Regions from separate parts of the Homo sapiens genome. Here regions 1, 2 and 3 are each linked to region 4. The links are contacts of gene promoters, found by promoter capture Hi-C in blood cells and fetal thymus (Javierre and others, 2016). All regions are on one chromosome and are shown on one strand. Each heading gives the region's core, a stretch centred on a gene start or on the middle of the fragment in contact. The rest is flanking DNA. Distances are from core to core; before and after follow the strand shown. Region 1 holds the start of RRM1 (ribonucleotide reductase catalytic subunit M1). Region 2 holds the start of OR52K2 (olfactory receptor family 52 subfamily K member 2). Region 3 overlaps LOC124902625 (a long non-coding RNA gene). Region 4 holds the start of TRIM22 (tripartite motif containing 22).

What was found. Contacts are between HindIII fragments. The CHiCAGO score rates a contact against its expected background, and 5 or more counts as called.
Region 1: a contact is called between the fragment with the promoter of RRM1 here and the fragment with the promoter of TRIM22 in region 4, in 1 of 17 cell types (non-activated CD4 T cells). The highest score is 6.8, in non-activated CD4 T cells.
Region 2: a contact is called between the fragment with the promoter of OR52K2 here and the fragment with the promoter of TRIM22 in region 4, in 1 of 17 cell types (neutrophils). The highest score is 6.5, in neutrophils.
Region 3: a contact is called between a fragment that was not itself captured here and the fragment with the promoter of TRIM22 in region 4, in 1 of 17 cell types (activated CD4 T cells). The highest score is 5.2, in activated CD4 T cells.

What each region holds. Positions count from the first base shown.
Region 1 is chr11:4,093,315-4,096,459 of GRCh38, forward strand. RRM1 (ribonucleotide reductase catalytic subunit M1) reads left to right here and starts at 1,485. Exons shown (of 19, transcript NM_001033.5): 1 at 1,485-1,717. The coding sequence starts at 1,699. RefSeq lists enhancers at 1,115-1,184, 1,245-1,714. The HindIII fragment of the contact is 7,950 bases long and covers 780-3,145 here.
Region 2 is chr11:4,447,516-4,450,585 of GRCh38, forward strand. It overlaps OR52K2 (olfactory receptor family 52 subfamily K member 2), which reads left to right and starts at 1,780. Exons shown (of 1, transcript NM_001005172.2): 1 at 1,780-2,846. The coding sequence starts at 1,825. The coding sequence ends at 2,769. The HindIII fragment of the contact is 8,565 bases long and covers 1-3,070 here.
Region 3 is chr11:6,700,426-6,703,550 of GRCh38, forward strand. All of the region lies in intron 3 of LOC124902625 (a long non-coding RNA gene), which reads left to right. Among named protein-coding and RNA genes, the nearest start is that of MRPL17, 19 kb to the left of the region's middle. The HindIII fragment of the contact is 2,317 bases long and covers 346-2,662 here.
Region 4 is chr11:5,688,266-5,691,757 of GRCh38, forward strand. TRIM22 (tripartite motif containing 22) reads left to right here and starts at 1,525. Exons shown (of 8, transcript NM_006074.5): 1 at 1,525-1,634. It overlaps LOC124902620 (a long non-coding RNA gene), which reads right to left. Exons shown (of 2, transcript XR_007062561.1): 1 at 2,413-3,492; 2 at 1,962-2,031. RefSeq lists enhancers at 1,205-2,197, 1,319-1,658, 1,630-2,829, 2,245-2,344. The HindIII fragment of the contact is 4,665 bases long and covers 1-2,530 here.

The DNA.
Region 1 (3,145 bases), core at 235-2,734, 1.6 Mb before region 4:
AAGCTCTGTGGGCAGGGTTACCAGATAAATGCAGGATGACCAGTTAAATGTGAATTTCAGATAAACAGTTTTTAAAGTATAATTTTCTCTCATGCAGTATCTGGGACACATTTTTATTTGCTAAATTGGGAAACCCTATGTCTGGGTAAACTTGACCCTATCTATCCTATAACTTCACTTACGACTTTTAAAAAACATATCTATTTAATTTTTCTTTCTTTTTTTTTGTTTTTTTTGAGACGGCGTCTCACTCTCTTGCCTAGGCTAGGGTGCAATGGCGCGATCTTGGCTCACTGCAACCTCTGCCTCCAGCGTTCAAGCGATTCTTCTGCCTCAGCCTCCTGAGTAGCTGGGATTACAGGCGCGTGCTACCATGCCTGGCTACTTTTTGTATTTTTAGCAGCGGGGGGGTTTCACCACGTTGGTTAGGCTGGTCTCGAACTCCTGACCTCGTGATCTGCCCGCCTTGGCCTCCCATAGTGCTGGGATTACAGGAGTGAAGCACCGCGCTGGCCTACTTTTTCTATTTTTTGTAGAAATGGGGTCTCACTATGTTGCCCAGGCTTATCTCAACACCTGGCCTCACATGATGCTCCCGCCTTAGCCTCCCAAAATGCTGCAATTACAGGCTCACTTACGACTTTCCATGATTTTTGAAATTACTTCACAGGGAGCCTGGGCAGCTTCTGGAGGGCAGTGAGAAACCAACGAAAAGGCTTTAGGGAAAAGATGCCACAGATGAAATTTCATAAAGATCGCTTTGGGTAGCCCAAATCAGAAGCTTCTACACCAGCCTTACATATTACGGTTCTCATCTATTCTTATTCTCCACTCTAAGTCACCAAGTCCATCCTACCTCCACAAGGCAAATACCCTGTCTCTGCCACCATCCACTGAAGAACCCTAAAAGCAAATGGGTACTGACCCTGCCCTGCTTAAAATTCTCTCAGGGCTCTGATTTGCGTCAGGATAAAATCCAAACGCCATCGGCCTTGCGCGGTTTTCTTCCAGTTCCAGAGTGTCAGTCCTCTGGCCGATCTAAAAGCCCTGGGGCTCCAAGCTGCCCACGGCTGTGGAGCCTGGGCTGGAGCCCACAGCGGACGGCAGTGTTAGTATTATTATAATAAATGTCAGAGCAAGAAAAACGTTCCCGCCGGTTAGGTTTTGTTATTTCAAAAATAAATTAACCGCCTTTCCTCCGGCGGAGACGCGCAGGTGAGAGGGCGGCGCCTGACCCAGCGGGCTCTAGGTGCTACGCCAGGGCCCCGAGGGTCCCGAACTCGGCTTGCCCACACAAAACATGGTAGCAGGAGAGCAGCATTTCCGCCGGGCATGTCCATATCCAATGGGGCCCATGGGAGAGGCGTAGTCTTCTGGGTCTTGCCCAGACTCAACATGGCGGCTACACGTCGCCTGTCAGTCTGTGAAGCCTACCCCGGGCGTGGGCCGCAGCGTCGAGTAACGTCATTCGAACCCCGTCGCGCCCCTTTGTGCGTCACGGGTGGCGGGCGCGGGAAGGGGATTTGGATTGTTGCGCCTCTGCTCTGAAGAAAGTGCTGTCTGGCTCCAACTCCAGTTCTTTCCCCTGAGCAGCGCCTGGAACCTAACCCTTCCCACTCTGTCACCTTCTCGATCCCGCCGGCGCTTTAGAGCCGCAGTCCAGTCTTGGATCCTTCAGAGCCTCAGCCACTAGCTGCGATGCATGTGATCAAGCGAGGTGAGGGGGGGACGAGGTGGGCGAGAAGGAAGGTGAGGGGATGCGGGCTGCCGCCGCCGGAGCTGATGCCCAGACCGCCCGCCCGCCTTCGCTGCTTCCCGCCTTTCCCGCATTTCCCGCCGCGGCCTTCCGCCCTGTCAGCCCGCTCGGCCTTCTGTCTTCAGTCAGCCTGCCCCGAACCTCCTTCGGGCCTTCAGGCTGCGCCCCCTCGGCTTTGTCATCCTGCCGCCTTTCAAAAGGATAACACTTACCCCGTATCGAGTAGTGACTGCGTACGCCGAGCACTTGCCAGGCACTATTTTATTCCTCCCTGCAAGCCTCTGAGAGATGATTAGCTTATTACAGATGAGGAAACTGACGCTCAGAGCGAGGTGTCGCCGACTGACCCAAAGTCACCCATAGGTGACAATACGGTTTGATTTGAAAACCGTGGGGTTGGTGAGCTGTCTTAGGCACAGGGTCGGGGGGCAGCTAGGAAAGAAGGAGGGGGCCTCTCTACCCTCCGTAGGCACTTGTCAGTTTACTGATCTCTTTTGTGGGGTGAGGATAGGAGTGTGGCGTGGAAAAAACAGATCCCAGACAGACAGCACCCTCGAGTTCCTTTCCCTTCATGGGAAGAGATGCTGAATCAGAGAAGGGTGGCTGAGACATCTTCTGACAAGATGGGGACTGGGAAGAGTCAGGAACTCGTATTCTTTCTCAACAGTTCTTTTTCATTAGACTTGCCAAGTGCCCGCTTTGTGCCCAGCCCTTTGCTTGGCTTTGTGAGATTGTAGGAGGAGACAGTCCCTGCCTTGGGAACAGGCTTCATCGGGTTGGAAAAACAAGAGCAACATACTTTTAACAACCGCATGAGATACGTATGAACAAGTTTTGAGTTGAACCTACTTGCCTTTGTTAAAGCAATACAATGATTTCAAAATTGTAGGCACTTAGTAAATACTGGTTAATCGACTGGTTGTTTCTATTTTGTCCTCTAGGCTGTGAACATTTCAAAGATGGAGACTTGTTTGAGACAGAGTCTTGCTCTGTCACCCAGGATGGAATGCAGTGGTGTAATCATAGCTTACTGTAACCTTGAAGTCCTGGGCTCAAGCGATGCTCTTGCCTCAGCCTCTCAAGTAGCTGGGACTATAGGCATGCACCACCATGAGTGGCTAATTTTTAAAAATTTCTGGTAGTAAAGGAGTCTTGCTGTGTTTCCCAGTCTGGCCTTGAATTCCTGGCCTCAAACCATCCTCCCTTCCTTGGCTTCCCAAAGTGCTGGGAATACAAGCAAGATGGAGACTTTTCTGTTCACGTTTAGCACAGGACCTGACATGAACAGATTCTTAAAGAATGAATGAAAATAGTTGTATCAAAATGTAGGACACGATGAATGCTGTGAATAAGCAGGTAGTTGATTTGGTTTAACTACAGCCAATGTCC
Region 2 (3,070 bases), core at 530-3,029, 1.2 Mb before region 4:
GGGAACTCAGAGTAGAAGCTAGACAGTTGAGCATTCCCTGAATATTGATTTCTCTTGGCATTTTTACCACCTAAGAGAGCACCTAGAGAAGTATGAGAATAAAAGGGCAACAAAAAGAGGAGAGAAAAGAAGAGAGAGAGAGGGGAATACACAAGCAATGATAAGATCATATAAGGGGAGTAGAGGAGATGGGAGCTAGATTGGAAGGAATTAAAAATTAAGAGATGAGGAATTAGATAATGAATTACTCAACTTTTTCAACAAACATTGTTGTGAAGGAAAACAGTTGCGGGTGTTAGATGGAGGGAGATATAAGGCCAAGGAATGCGGGATTGTGCTGATGTCAAGAAAAACATTTTAAAAAAGGGGGCAGATTTGTGTGGGAGGGGGAATATTGTAATGACAAATAACAGTTTTACAATGCTTTACAGTTTACAGGGACTCTTCTCATGATTTTATCTTTCCTCATCATGAAGCAGTAAAATTGTCATGGAAGATATGGTTATGCCTTCATCTATAGGTGAGGAACCTAAATCTTTAAAAATTTCAGTGATTAATACTAGTTTCTATTGGTAGGCTGATGGCTCAATCATTACTTAAACCCAAGTCTTTAGATTCTAATTTTTTTTCCTATATCATGATAATGAGTTTGAGTTATATTTCTGTTAACTTGAATATGCTGGATTTATACTTCTTAGGAAGCAATGAGGTAGAAGCAGAAGAGTGTAGTGATTTAAGACATTGGATTGGGAGGCAGCAAACCAGAGTTCTCGAAGCTCAAGTTTCATCTTTGACGTTTTCCAACTGTTCTGATTGTTAGTGACTTAGTCTTTTGTTTTCTCAATTCATAAGTGTCCACGTTTACTGAGCACTGTTTCAAGATTTGTGCTAAGTGTTTTAAAAGATCTCAAAATCCCCAAAAGAAAGTTTTTAGGCAGGAGCTGAAAAAAAAGGTGGCACAGGTCAAAAATATTGCAAGGAAATGTTTAAACGTTTTCAAGGGAAATGACAACAGAAGGTGGAAAAAGATAGAATGATAAGGATCCCAGATGGAAAAATAGTGTGAAGGGAATAGGTCAGTCTTGCAAAAAGGTAAGTGTGGGGCATCTCTTCTTCTGAATGTCATGAAGTCCAGGAAGGAAGAAGCACGTAGAGATGAAGGTTAAACTACAGTTAGGCAAAAGAGAACAACAAAAGGGCTTCTCATGTTCTCAAGTTACCTGGAGGTAGGGCTTTAGTTGGAGGGATTTCTGAGTGTCAAACAAGGACCTACGAAACCCTGCTAGAAAAAAAATCTAAAGAACTTGTAGGGAAGTGAATTATTAGAAAGTGCTAACTACATTTATTTTTCATATGACCAAGATTGACATTTCAGGGCAGAAACTCTTTCATAATTGGGAGTGTAGTTTGAATTGGAAGGCAATAGGAAGACAGTGACGGTAAATGTTTGTGGGTATGATTTGAATTAAGCAGCAATCTGTATTATTTACAAAGTTGCTTTTGGCCACATGCAGGCCACAAAAGGCTCTTCCTCCACTTGATTTCTCAATAAGGCTGCTTTGTAATACTAGCTTTATTGGAATTAAATGTCCTGAGCACCCAGTGTTTTTATAAACAGCTTAAGGGCAAGGATCATGCATAATATTTCATGATACATATGATTATTTTCTCATTTCTTTTCATGTCTAAAAATGGGTCTAAGAACTAATCTTCTCACAAGAATGATCAGAGTTTGAATGTGAGCATTGTAATTCTGCTGATATTGAATATTCTCTGGAAGGGCCCTGTGGAAGCAGATAAGGAGGAAGAGAATTCCCAGGAGCCATGTCAGCCTCCAATATCACCTTAACACATCCAACTGCCTTCTTGTTGGTGGGGATTCCAGGCCTGGAACACCTGCACATCTGGATCTCCATCCCTTTCTGCTTAGCATATACACTGGCCCTGCTTGGAAACTGCACTCTCCTTCTCATCATCCAGGCTGATGCAGCCCTCCATGAACCCATGTACCTCTTTCTGGCCATGTTGGCAGCCATCGACCTGGTCCTTTCCTCCTCAGCACTGCCCAAAATGCTTGCCATATTCTGGTTCAGGGATCGGGAGATAAACTTCTTTGCCTGTCTGGCCCAGATGTTCTTCCTTCACTCCTTCTCCATCATGGAGTCAGCAGTGCTGCTGGCCATGGCCTTTGACCGCTATGTGGCTATCTGCAAGCCACTGCACTACACCAAGGTCCTGACTGGGTCCCTCATCACCAAGATTGGCATGGCTGCTGTGGCCCGGGCTGTGACACTAATGACTCCACTCCCCTTCCTGCTGAGATGTTTCCACTACTGCCGAGGCCCAGTGATCGCTCACTGCTACTGTGAACACATGGCTGTGGTGAGGCTGGCGTGTGGGGACACTAGCTTCAACAATATCTATGGCATCGCTGTGGCCATGTTTATTGTGGTGTTGGACCTGCTCCTTGTTATCCTGTCTTATATCTTTATTCTTCAGGCAGTTCTACTGCTTGCCTCTCAGGAGGCCCGCTACAAGGCATTTGGGACATGTGTCTCTCATATAGGTGCCATCTTAGCCTTCTACACAACTGTGGTCATCTCTTCAGTCATGCACCGTGTAGCCCGCCATGCTGCCCCTCATGTCCACATCCTCCTTGCCAATTTCTATCTGCTCTTCCCACCCATGGTCAATCCCATAATCTATGGTGTCAAGACCAAGCAAATCCGTGAGAGCATCTTGGGAGTATTCCCAAGAAAGGATATGTAGAGGGTGAGGTGGAGAAAGAATGGGTTGGCTTGTCTGCTGGAGTTGGAGACAGGCTATGGTAGAATGTGCACGGCTGCCAGGATCTTCATGTTTAGTTTTTTCTTGGAAAAAAAAAAAATGATGTCCTGAAACTCAGAGCCACCAGTCTGTTCAGGACTCATGGGTCTGTGTCCTCTGGTAGCCTGTGGATTGAATGTGCTGACTGTGCTGTCTTCTCACAGTGCCCTCACCCCTATCAGTAACTTGACAGAGACTTGACCCATGGGTCTCCAGGTGACTTCACCGAAAGACACAAAGATGC
Region 3 (3,125 bases), core at 254-2,753, 1.0 Mb after region 4:
CCTCCCGGGTTCAAGCAATTCTCTTGCCTCAGTCTCCCAAGTAGCTGGGATCACAGGCACCCGTCACCACACCTGGCTAGTTTTTGGATTTTTAGTAGAGACGGGGTTTTGCCATGTTGGTCAGGCTGGTCTCGAACTCCTGACTGACCTCAGGTGATCTGCTTGCCTCAGCCTCCCAAAGTGCTGGGATTACAGGTGTGAGCCACTGCACCTGGTCTGCTTCTACCACTTTAATGTTACATGTAAGAGAAAAAACAATATATATTGGAAGTAAGTTAACCATGTACATTTATTCAAACTCATGGGAGAAACATTTTTATTAGCTTTTTTTTTTTTTAAAAAAAAAGCTTTATTGAGCTAAATTCACATACCAGAAAGTTCTTCCATTAGCTTTTGATAGAGGTTGGGGTCCTATAAATATGTATTTATTTTTACCCTCGCTCATGACTTACTTGTTACTCTTCAACCAATTTTCTTGTAATTTATTCATTCCTATCATCGATTTAAGAAATTTAGATTAGCTTTATTTGAATATTTGGTTAATTCTATTGTAAAAATCCTTCTGTAACAATAATTAATACACGTTTTAAGCCCCTGCACTTCTAAGCAGCCCAGTACCTTTACTTTTTGCTCTTAATCTCTACTAAACCCAGTCACATTTTAACATTGGGTATTTTATTCATTTAAGGATAAGGGAACTAATTAAAAAAAAACTTGCCCTGTTCTTGTCTTTAGAAGATGTATTTTAATAAAAAAGTACTCTTTCTATTTAAGAATTATTTATCACAGATTTGTAAAATACTTTGTTTCGCTTAGTTCTATACTATAAAACTGAAATGGTAACTAAACCTGTAAGAAATCAGTTGAAATTTACATTTCAAATTTATACGCATATTTTGTGGCCCAAGTCATGTATGCTACTCTTATAACTGACAAAGGGGTTGTGGACAGAATATGTAAAGGACTCCTAGAAAATCAACACAAGATAAAAATGGGTGAAAAACTTGAGTAGGCATTTTATGAAAGTGAATATTCAAATAGCCAATAAAGGACAAAAATGTAAAACTTCATTATTAATTAAGGAAATACATATTAAAACCATATTGAAATAGTACTATATACTCCAGAATGGCTAAAGTTAAAAAGACTTTCTGATAAAATTAAGTCTTGGTGAGTATGAGAAGCAACTGGAATTCTCATACATTTCTGATAAAGGCATAAATTGCAACATACACTTTGAAAGCTGGTTGGTACTCTTTACAGAAGTTGAAAATGTATATGCTACAACCCAGAAATCCTACTCCTAGTATATACACACATGCCTAATGGAAATGTGTATATATGTGCACCAGAAGGTATGCAACAATGCTTATAGCAAAACTATTTAAAACATTCCCAAGGTGGGAACAGCACACATGTTTGTTGGCAGAAAGGATAAATAATTGTCATTTGGTCATATAATGCATTATACAACAATGAAAATAAACTAATACAGCTCCACATAGTAACATGGATAAATCTTAAAAACGTAATGTTGAGTAAAGGAAGTCAGGCACAAAATGTACACATTGTATCATTCCAACTGCTTGTTTGAAAACAGAGCTAATCTCTGTGTTACACTGCTTTGGAGAGTGGAGAGAAGGTACAGTGATTAGAGGAGGGCATGAGGGGTGAGTTCTAGGGTGTGGGCAATGCTCCGTAACTTGATCTGGATGCTGGTTACTGGAGTGTATTTGCTTTGTCACAGATCGTTGAGCTGTACACATAAAATCTGTGTACCCTTTTTAGTATAACTGTTATATTTCAATAAAAAAGAAGTTAAAAAAGATTAGCCACATCTTTTATAGCTGTCCGACTCATGGAGAGTTATCCTTTCTTTGAGTTTAATACTGATAAATAAAGGTCCCCTGAAGATATCCACCTCCTACTCCCCAGAACCTGTGACTGTTACTCCATATGGCAAAAAGGACTTTGCAGATGTGATTAAATTCACAATCTTGAGACGAGGAGATTATCCTGGATTATCCAGTGGGCCCAATGTAATCACAAGGGTCCTTATAAGAAAGAGTCAGTAGGGTCAAGCATTGGAATGAGGCACTGAAAAACTTGACTTCTTGTTGCTGGCTTTGAAGATGGAAGGGGGTCATGTGTCTAGGAATGTAGAAGCAGAAAAGGCAAAAAAAAAAAAAAAAGAAAGAAAGAAGAAAAAGAATTTTTCCCGAGTGTCTTTAGAAGGTACGAAGCTCTGCCAATACCTTGTTTTTAATTCCATAAGTCCTAATTTTAGACTTTGACCTCCAGAACTGTAAGATAAATCTGTTGTTTCATTGTTTTTAGCCACCAAGGTTGTGATAATTTGTTATAGTAGGAACAGGAAACTAACACAGTGGGTTACACATTGTGCCCGTCAGAATACATCACACATAATAGGTACTCTGTGAGTGTGTATTGAATGAATGGCCGAGCTTCCAACATGTCTGATTCTTAATTACGACGAAGGAATTTTAGAAATAAATAAAGGTGTTTTTGTCTGTGAGAATTCAAGACTGGTATTGTGTAGTGTGACCAGGCAATTTTTTTTTTTTGTCTCTCTCCTGCTAATCTTCCAGACCTCAAGGACCTTTCCAGACCAAGGTCCTGGAGGTGAAGTGAAGAGAGCACAAGCTTTGAACTCATCAGACAACAAAATTGAAGATGAGGATGTAGATAAAAATGCCATTATTAGGGCTTCTCCTTAGTCTGTCGGAGGCATTCATTTGTCTGGAGGAAGTTAGAATTTTTTCCAAAAATATAAGACTGAGGTAATATTAGTCTTTTGACATCCAAATGGATTATGCCATGCATCAACTTTAGGATTCATTCACAGAAATGTAGCACAGCATGGTCAGAAAGAAGAAGGCTTAATTTTACAAAGGTGCCTTGAGTTTTTATGCAGTTTGGATACTGAATTGAAACCCAGTGGATTGTCATAGGCCTACAATAGCAGAATGAGTTGACTCAACAATAAGGTAGCGTAGACTGCTGGACCAATTTGCAGGCTGGAGGATGTGGCAATCAACTCAGGGTTCTGCAGACAGCAAAATTTTTCTTAACAGCCTTAGCAACTCAGGAACATTGTCCCTGTA
Region 4 (3,492 bases), core at 275-2,774:
CCCTCTTCTCGGGGAGAAGTCAGTTTTTTCTTCTATTCTGGCTTTCAGCTGATTGAATAAGGTCCTCATAGATATAAGTGAGTAGGAAAGAATTTATAGCCAGGATTAGCTTATTATTCTGTGAGCAACAAATAATACCAAAATATCTATTATTGAAATAATAAACATTGATTTCTCAGTCATCCTACATGTGTATCATTGATTAAAGTATGAAGATGGCCATGCTCCATAGTGTCAGTCAGGGATCCATGTTATGGAAGCTCCATGAGTTGCCTTTTTTTTTCTTTTTTTTTGGGTGTGTGTGTGTATGTGTTGTGTGGTGTTTGTTTGTTTGTTTTTTGTAGAGACAGGGTCTTACTATGTCACCCAGGCTGCAGTGCTATGGTGCAATGACGCAATCTTGGCTCAATGCAACCTCCACCTCCTGGGCTCAAGCCATCCTCCCATCTCAGTTTCCTGAGTAGCTGGGACTACAGGTGCACATCACCACACCCAGCTATTTTTTTTTTTTTAATTTTTCTTAGAGATGGGATTTCACCATGTTGCCCAGGCTGGTGTTGAAGTCCTGGACTCAAGTGATCCACCCACCTGGGCCTCCCAGAGTGCTGGGATTACAGGCATGAGACACCACAGGCCTCCATCAGTTTTTGATGGCATTATCTGGCACATGCAGTTAAACAAGAATACAATAGACAACAGGGTACAGAAGTATGTGCATGACGTATAACATGTTTCAGTGCTGCTTTTTAATTGATTGTGTAAAAATGACCAAACTTTTCTTAGAGAAGCAGGGAAAAGTGGAAAAATTATGAAGGCATGAGAGTAACTCAATGAATGATTATAATTAAACAGCATCATCTGTTAACTTCCATGTTCTCACCTGCCTCAGTGGCTGGGTAACATGACACTGACACAGTTTTACCTCTATTACTCTCTGGAATCCATCCTCATCTGGTCTGTCTGGATTAGGAGCAGGAAGTGATAATTAATTGATGGACTCTTAAGATTTAATGACATTTTGAGAACATTTTTTTCAATGGGCTCACACTAAAGATCCTTTTATTTATAAAAATAATTTTTTTACCATTCACAATGTCAGCTGCTAATACTCATCTTGTCAGCCCAAATTTGTAGAGCTTTATAACTGAGTATCTTCCTCGTCAGACTGCATTTCAAGAAGCTAGGTCCCAAGTCTCTGGATCTTTATTTTCCTGGCTTAGGTCTTAAATATAAGATAAATTCGACTAATAATTATAGGACTGCATTGGAATTCTAAGTATTCAGGCAAGCTGTATAACTGTAATTCACATTCTTTTTATTCAAATATTCTTGCTTGAGTAAACCACAGTAAGAATAAGGAAGTAGTGACTGAGTGCCTTGCCAGTACAGCAGATGCTAGAACATAATGTAGCATTACTTTCCCCAGGGTTTATTGTTATGTAAGTTCTTGTTCAGCTTCCTTTGTTTTCTTTCACTTCTGAGAATTTAACTTTCGTTTCTCACTCAGCTCCTGTGGGGAAACTCATTTGTGGAGACCAGCCCTCTGGCTTGGTGAGTGAATCTGGTTTACACCGGCTCCTGCCCTGCCTTCACTCTTCTCCCCTGATTCAAGACTCCTCTGCTTTGGACTGAAGGTGAGTGGAGCAATCTGTGGGAGCATAGAATGGGAGGCTTTGAGAAGAATAGATTGATTGTGTCTGGGTGAGTTTAATTTGTAGTTCTGAAGCTGCTCTGCATAAACAAAAAGAGGCAGCTTGTGAACTGTCTGCTGAGATGGCAGAGGAAGAAAGCACTGAGTCTGGGAGAGGGGTAACCTTTAAAGAAGAGAGGTTTGCAAAAGCAAAAAGCCTTGCTTGTTTCCTAGAGGGACCATTCATTTCTTCAATCTAGGTACCTCCATCACCTTCCTTGTTGGAAATAAAGCTCAGAATCTTAAGGGAGACGAGCACTCAAACAAAGGATTTCTCAGCAAAGCAATTTTATTTCTGTGCAGAGGGGTGCTTCTTCTTTGCCAGTCGCCATGAGAGCACACTAGAACAAAGGAGGAAGAAAGTTTTTATTCCTGACGCAAATCCTACCCCTTTGCCCTTTCCCCATTGGCTGGAGTCGGCCACACAATCTAAACTAGACTCAGTTGGCTAAACATTTTAACTTTCTTTAGATAAGGTGGGCACGTGAGGGAGAGAGGGGAGATGGGGAAGGGGTGTGTGTGATGAGCTAGATAACTAATCTTCTTCCAAAATAAGGAAAGGAATGTGAGTTGGTACTGATAACGCCTGGTACTGTGACATGTCTAGGCATGTAGCAAAAGCAGAAAGGAAAGAGAAGAGAAGAAAAGTGAAGTGGGGAGGGGCACTGTGAATTAAAGAATAAAGGATTGATCAGGCTATTTGAAGAGAAACCTTATCATACCCCACATTCCTATTCTGTCATTTTGATTTTTCCATTTTGCCAACGTGGATCAGAATTTTCTTTTATTCAGAGGCAGCAAATTCCTTCCTCCTTTCTCCCGAAGAAGCCTGTGCAATGAAGCTTTGTTTTCACTTTTCATAAAGCAACCTCATGATGAGGTTCAGCAGGGATGAGAGCCCTTATCTGGATCTGGGTATGAGGCGAAGGAGTCTTAGGTACTCAGTCTTCAGAAGTAAGGCCCTTTTGAAGGTTATCCTTTTACTTGCCTTCTGGTAACTTTTTGGATGCTGTCCATAGCTTTCCTGATAAATTAGCAGCCCTCTGGTTAGTCCGAGGAGAGAGGCCGCAGGACGGGCAGACTGCTGCTCATCTCTGCAGCTCCACTTTGGTCTCTTGTCTCTGAAGGTCCAGTCACAGGGAACTTGTTCTTCTGAGTACCCACAGCTTACTCTTCCTTTGTAGCAGGACCAGCCACAGAAAAAACTCCTCAGACACCGAGGTAAAGAAGGAAGGGGTTTATTCGGCCAGGGGCATAGGCAAGACTCCTGTCTCAAGAGCCGAGCTCCTCGAGTGAGCAATTCCTGTCCCTTTTAAGGGCTCACAACTCTAAGGGGGTCCGCGTGAGAGGGTCGTGATCGATTGAGCAAGCAGGGGGTACGTGACTGGGGGCTGCATACACCGGTAATTAGATCGGAACAAAACAGAGTAGGGATTTTCACAGTGCTTTTCTATACAATGTCTGGAATCTATAGATAACAAACCAATTAGGTCAGGGGTCCATCTTTAACTACCAGGTCCAGGGTGTGGCCCCGGGCTGTCTGCTTGTGGATTTCATTTCTGCCTTTTAGTTTTTACTTTTTCTTTCTTTGGAGGCAGAAATTGGGCATAAGACAATATGAGAGGTGGTCTCCTCCCTCAACTTCTGTAGCACCCAATGAACCTCTGGTATCCACTCCTGTTTTAGAAGTTGCTATTATTCTAGGTACACCTTTTCATCATGAGTTACCTCAACTCCCTACTCAATTTTCCCTTGCACAGAGCTAAGGCAAGGAGTTGGTAATTTCTCCTGAGTCTTATCTC